Regions from separate parts of the Homo sapiens genome. Here region 2 is linked to region 1. Evidence: promoter capture Hi-C in 16 types of primary human blood cells and fetal thymus (Javierre and others, 2016). All regions are on one chromosome and are shown on one strand. Each heading gives the region's core, a stretch centred on a gene start or on the middle of the fragment in contact. The rest is flanking DNA. Distances are from core to core; before and after follow the strand shown.

Region 1 (2,700 bases), core at 127-2,626:
AGCTAAAGCTTGAAGAAAGAAGCAGTAGTGTTGGGACTCTAACAGTGTGTCTAATGAGGTACAGAGAATGCCCCAGCTGCTTGTGGGAAATAAGGGGTTGAGACCCCCCCACCCCCAAATAAAACAACATTGTGTTAGTATCACAGCAGCCAGATTATCCTTTCCTACCTTGCCACAAAGTATAGCTAATCCCAAAGGGAAGTCATTGGAAACCAGTATGTGAGAAGAGCCTGAATGGGAAAGGCTGATTGCATGACCAAATGTTCCTACCCTTTCCTTCTGAAAAGACAAAACACTGGGAGGGAAGGGTGTTGCAAAGAGATGTGACCTGGTCTCACGGTCCAAAACCACAGGCCTAAAATATGCCAGGGATAGGGACCGCTTCACTCAGACAAGAAGCCCAACTGCTTTCTTGCCCTTTCCCACCTCTGCTAGAAGTTTTGAGCTGGAACAAAGTGAAGCCAAAGGCATTCTAGGCAATGGGGTCTACTCACCTCAAGCCCATGCCTATATGCTTTATCATGTTGCTTAGGGAGACGTTGTTAGCTTGAAAGGGTTTCCTCTTCTCTGTAAACTCATGAGCCAGACAGATGCGCCAGCCAAAGGGAGGCACCTGGTAGCCCATAGCTTTACCCTCATAGGAAACCATCAGCTGCCCAGAGTCCTCCGGATTGCAGCAGTCCGTCTCTTTTGGGGGTCGGCTGTCTTCGGGACTCTTACAGTCTGTAACCTGCACATCCTTGGTGCCGCCAGTCTCTTCAGGGCAATAAACTTGTGGATCCTCTTTGGCACAGCTTATCTGCTCCGAGGCTGGGACGCCGGTTCCCATGTTCCCTGGATCCTGGGTCCCCATGACCTCGATGGCGCCAAGTCCCGAGCCCTCGGATACTAAGTATCTCGCCAGCCTATTCCAGATGCGGGCGCCGGTCGTTGTTAGGTATCGTCCCGGAGGGCCGGGCGTTGGGGAAAGCTTAAATGAGCTGGTGTTTCAGTGGAGCCGGGGAGCTCTTGCTTCAGTGGGGGCGGCGACAGCAAAGAAGCCGCCTTGGGCTCTCCTTCGGTTGTCTCTGTAGGTCCTGGACGGGAAGGGTCGGGCCTCGTCGTCATTGAGCCGACGATTAGCTCGCCCGGCCAAAGGGCGACTGGGCCCGCAGAGAGGGGAGGAGCCGCGGGGCCAGCCCACCAGGCACCGCCCCGGGACGGGCCCGCAAGGCACCGCCCCCGGGACCTCGGCCCGGCCCCTGGGCCACGGCACCGGGTCCCCCAGGATTGGGCGCCAGGTCCCGCCGGCCGGCTCCGGGGCAGCGCCCGCGCCCAGGTGCCAGCCCGTGGGAAGGTGACCCTGGGCGCCGGGATGACCCGAGCCCTTTCCGGTCTGGCCTGCCGGGCGCTTCCGGCCGGAAGGGACTCCGCGGAGGGTGGGGGACCGAAGGGAAGTCCCGCCTCTACCGCCCAGCGGACGCCGCCGCCGCCGCCGCCGCCGCGTACCTAGCCAGGTCCCTGAGGGGCGGGCAGATGAGGCCTAGGGGTGCCGATCCCTAGTGTCGACTATGCGAGGTGACTAGCGGCGGTGATCTTGGGCTGGGACGTGGAACTTTGAGGAAAGGGGGAGCGGAGGCCAGTTTGGGAACTCCGCGGGGGTGCCCAGGGAGAAGAACCCGTCGCACAGGGGCTGGGGTCTAGGGCCCAGAGCGATGTCCTCCCCCTGGGCAGTACTGAGTCTTCAGTCGCCTCCCTCCCACCCGCCTACCCCTCCTATATCCAGGAGCTCCCTCGGGCACCACGGTGCTGACCACCCCTGTCCTCAGCCCTCAGCCCTAGGTGCTCACCGCAACGCCCCTCCCTGTCAAGGTGCTGACCTCCGCCCCGCCTTGTTTCCTTCTAGATCTGATTCCGGAGCTGCCATGATTGAAGTGGTAGCAGAGCTCAGCCGGGGTCCTGTATTTTTGGCTGGGGAGGCGCTGGAGTGTGTAGTGACCGTCACCAACCCCCTTCCGCCCACGGCCACTTCTGCATCCAGGTGGGGATGCTGGCACTGAAGGTGGTGGCCCTTCTGGGAAGAAGCCAGATTATCTCTGGGGCTGAGGCAGAGCTCAGGTTGTCCTGTAGCGACACCACCTCCTCTTGCTCACTGTGCTGTCATTGTAGGAGAGGGCTCTTTAACAGAAGATGTGGATGACATAGCTGTACGCTTTCCTTCCCCTCCCCCGTTCCCCTTTTTACGCACAGTCTGCTACTCTTTATTTAATGGTTTCTCTTTGGGATTGTGGATTTCCTGATCACTAGGACAGCCATCTAACCTTGTTGGTTAAGATGGTGTGATAGGGAGCTTGGGAAAGCATTTGTGAGGTCAGGAACTACCTCTGATGCCTCCTTTTCCTTTTCCCACAGTGAGGCCCTGGCCTGGGCCAGTGCCCAAATCCACTGCCAGTTCCATGCCAGTGAGAGTCGAGTAGCACTGCCTCCTCCTGACTCTAGTCAGCCAGATGTCCAGCCCGACAGCCAGACTGTCTTTCTGCCACACCGAGGTTAGAGAGGGGCATTTGCCTGGGAGAGGGGGGGTGCGGAGGGTGTGTGTGGAGGCATTGTCACCCATGGGTGAAGTTGTTAATTGTTCTTGTTCTTATAGTCCCTGTCATGCTGGGGATGTTGGGGAGCATGACTATTGCTTTAGGGGTAGAAGACTATTCCCATTTCACA
Region 2 (2,700 bases), core at 177-2,676, 130 kb after region 1:
TCTATCGATCTTTCTTCAAGTCTGATGATTCTTTTGCCAGTTCAAATCTACTGTTGAACACCTCTAAGTGAATTTTTCATTTTGGTTATTGTATATTTAATTTTGGAATTTCCATTCAAAATAGTTTCTCTTCATTAATATCTCTATTTGATGAGAAATTGTCATCATAGCTTCCTTTACTCCCCCACCCCTCACCAGAGGTAGAATTGCTGAATCATATGGTTATTTTATTTTTAACTTTTTTGAGAAACTACCATACTGTTTTCCATTTTATATTTCCACCAACAGTGCACAAGGGTTCCAATTGCTTCATAGTCTCACCAACACTTGTTATTTTCTGTTTTTTTTTTTAAATAGCAGCCATTCTAATGGGTGAGATGGACTATCTTATTGTAGTTTTGATTGTATTACCTTAATGATTTAGTGGTAAACATTTGTTCATGTGCCTATTGTCCATTTGTATAGATTTTTGGAGAAATGTCTCTTTAAGTTATTTGCCCTTTTATTAATAGCACTGTGGTTTTTTTGTTTTGGGTTTTAGGAGTTCTCTCTATATTATGGATGTTAATCCCTCATCAGATACATAATTTATAAATATTTTCTCCCATTCTGTGGGTTGCCTTCTTACTCTGTTGACATAGTCTTGTGATGCACAAAATTTTAATATTTTCATGAAGTCTAATTTGTTGATTGTTTTCTTTTTTTTGCCTCTGCCTTTGGAGTCATATCCAAGAAATTATTGCCAAATTCAAATTCATGAAGCTTTTGCCCTGTGATTTCTTCTAAAAGTTTGATAGTTTTTGGTAGGTCTTTGGTCCATTTTGAATTTTTGTTTTGGTATTTGGCACTACGTAAGAGTCTCTTTTGCATGTGGACATCTAATTTTCCCAGCACAATTTATTGAAAAAAACTGTCCCTTCCTAAATAGATAGTCTCATTGCTCTTGACAAAAATCACTTGATATGAGGGTTTATTTCTGGGCTTTTCATTCTGTTCCATTGGTCTGTGTGTCTGTCTTTATGCCAGTACCATACTGTTTTGATTACTGTAGCTTTGTAGTAAGTTTTGAAATCAGGAAGTGTGAGTCCTTCAGCTTTGTTATTATTCAAAGTTGTTTTGACTACTCAAGGTCCCTTGAGATTCCATATGAATCTTAGGATGATGTTTCTATTTCTGCAAAAACATCATTGGGATTTTGATAGGGATTGCACCAAATATGTAGATCCTTTAATTCTTTAAGCATGAATTCCTTTAATTCTTTGAATATAGTTACAGTGGATGCTTGAAATCTTCATTGGCTAAATATGACTTGAGGCCTTTTGCAGGCAGTTTCTCTTGCCTGTGTTCCCCCTTCATGTATGCATACTTTCTTGTTCCTTTGCATGATTCATAATTTTTTGTTGAAACTGTATATTTTTGGTAATATATGGTAGCCACTCTAGATACCGATCTTCCACCCGTCTTTGTAGCTTGCTTTTGTTATTTTTTACTTCTTTATTCCTGACTTGGCTAGACTATTTAATTTAGTCTATTATCCCACAGCACGAAGCCTCTGTCTTTCCTCAGAGGCTGTATGTAGCCTTGGATATGTGCACATTCACACCCTGGGATAACAGTGGTTTTAGCAGAGCCATTTGACTGTTGCTTTTCCTGATCTATTTGTAAAAGTATCTACTTCTGCTGGTATCACAGCCAGTGTTAGGCTCCACAAATTGTCATCTGATTGCTTTATTGTTTTTGATCATGTGATGGGGAATACATTGTGCCACAGTCTGATCCAATTAAATTTGGGCAGGAGTATTTTTGAGGCCAGTCTTTGAGGTTTGTTTTGACCCCAGGAGGATTTTCCTTAGCTGTCTTTTTCCACGGTATTCTGCTGTTATTGGGTGAAGGGTTTTATAAATATCAATTAAGTTGGATGAAAGTATTGTCCAAGTCTCCTATATTCTTACTAATTTTCTGTCTACTTATTTTTCAACTACTGAGACAGGGATGTTGAAATCTTTGGCTGCAATTACAGATTTGTCTATTCCTCCTTTCAGTTCTATCAGGTCTTGCTTTATGTATTTTGAGGCTCTGTCATTAGATATATAAGCTTTTAGGACTGTTATGTTATCTTGATGAACTGACATCTTTGTCATTTTCAAATGACCCTCTTTATCCCTGTTAATGTTTTTGCTCTAATATCTACTTTGTCTGCTATTAATATAGAATTGGAGCTTTAATTTTTTTTTTTTTTTTTTTTGAGATGGAGCCTTGCTATGTCGCCAGGCTGGAGTGCAGTGGTGTGATCTCGGCTCACTGCAAGCTCTGCCTCCTGGGTTCACACCATTCTCCCGCCTCAGCCTCCTTTGAGTAGCTGGGATTACAGGCACGTGCCACCAGGCCCAGCTAATTTTTGTATTTTTGGTAAAGACGGGGTTTCACCATGTTGGCCAGGATGGTCTCAATCTCCTGACCTCGTGATCTGCCTGCCTCGGCCTCCCAAAGTGCTGGGATTACAGGCGTGAGCCACTGTGCCCGGCCGGATCTTTAAAAATTTAATCAGACAATCTCTGCCCTTTAATTTAGATGCTTAGACCAATTGCATTAAAAATGACCAGGGACATAGTTGGATTTAAATATTTCATCTGGCTGTTTGTTTTCTATTGTTCCATCTGTTATTTGTTCCTCTTTTAATCTACCTTTAATTAATGTAAT

The links. Contacts are between HindIII fragments. The CHiCAGO score rates a contact against its expected background, and 5 or more counts as called.
Region 2: a fragment that was not itself captured here is called in contact with the fragment with the promoter of GBA2 in region 1 in 2 of 17 cell types (megakaryocytes and naive B cells); the score reaches 5.2 in megakaryocytes.

Annotation. Positions count from the first base shown.
Region 1 is chr9:35,747,852-35,750,551 of GRCh38, forward strand. GBA2 (glucosylceramidase beta 2) reads right to left here and starts at 1,377. Exons shown (of 17, transcript NM_020944.3): 1 at 495-1,377. The coding sequence starts at 853. RGP1 (RGP1 partner of RAB6A GEF complex) reads left to right here and starts at 1,436. Exons shown (of 9, transcript NM_001080496.3): 1 at 1,436-1,557; 2 at 1,886-2,020; 3 at 2,392-2,528. The coding sequence starts at 1,905. RefSeq lists silencers at 1,076-1,475, 1,596-1,645, 1,676-1,725. The HindIII fragment of the contact is 10,379 bases long and covers 969-2,700 here.
Region 2 is chr9:35,875,999-35,878,698 of GRCh38, forward strand. No RefSeq gene overlaps it. Among named protein-coding and RNA genes, the nearest start is that of OR13J1, 6.9 kb to the left of the region's middle. The HindIII fragment of the contact is 1,333 bases long and covers 761-2,093 here.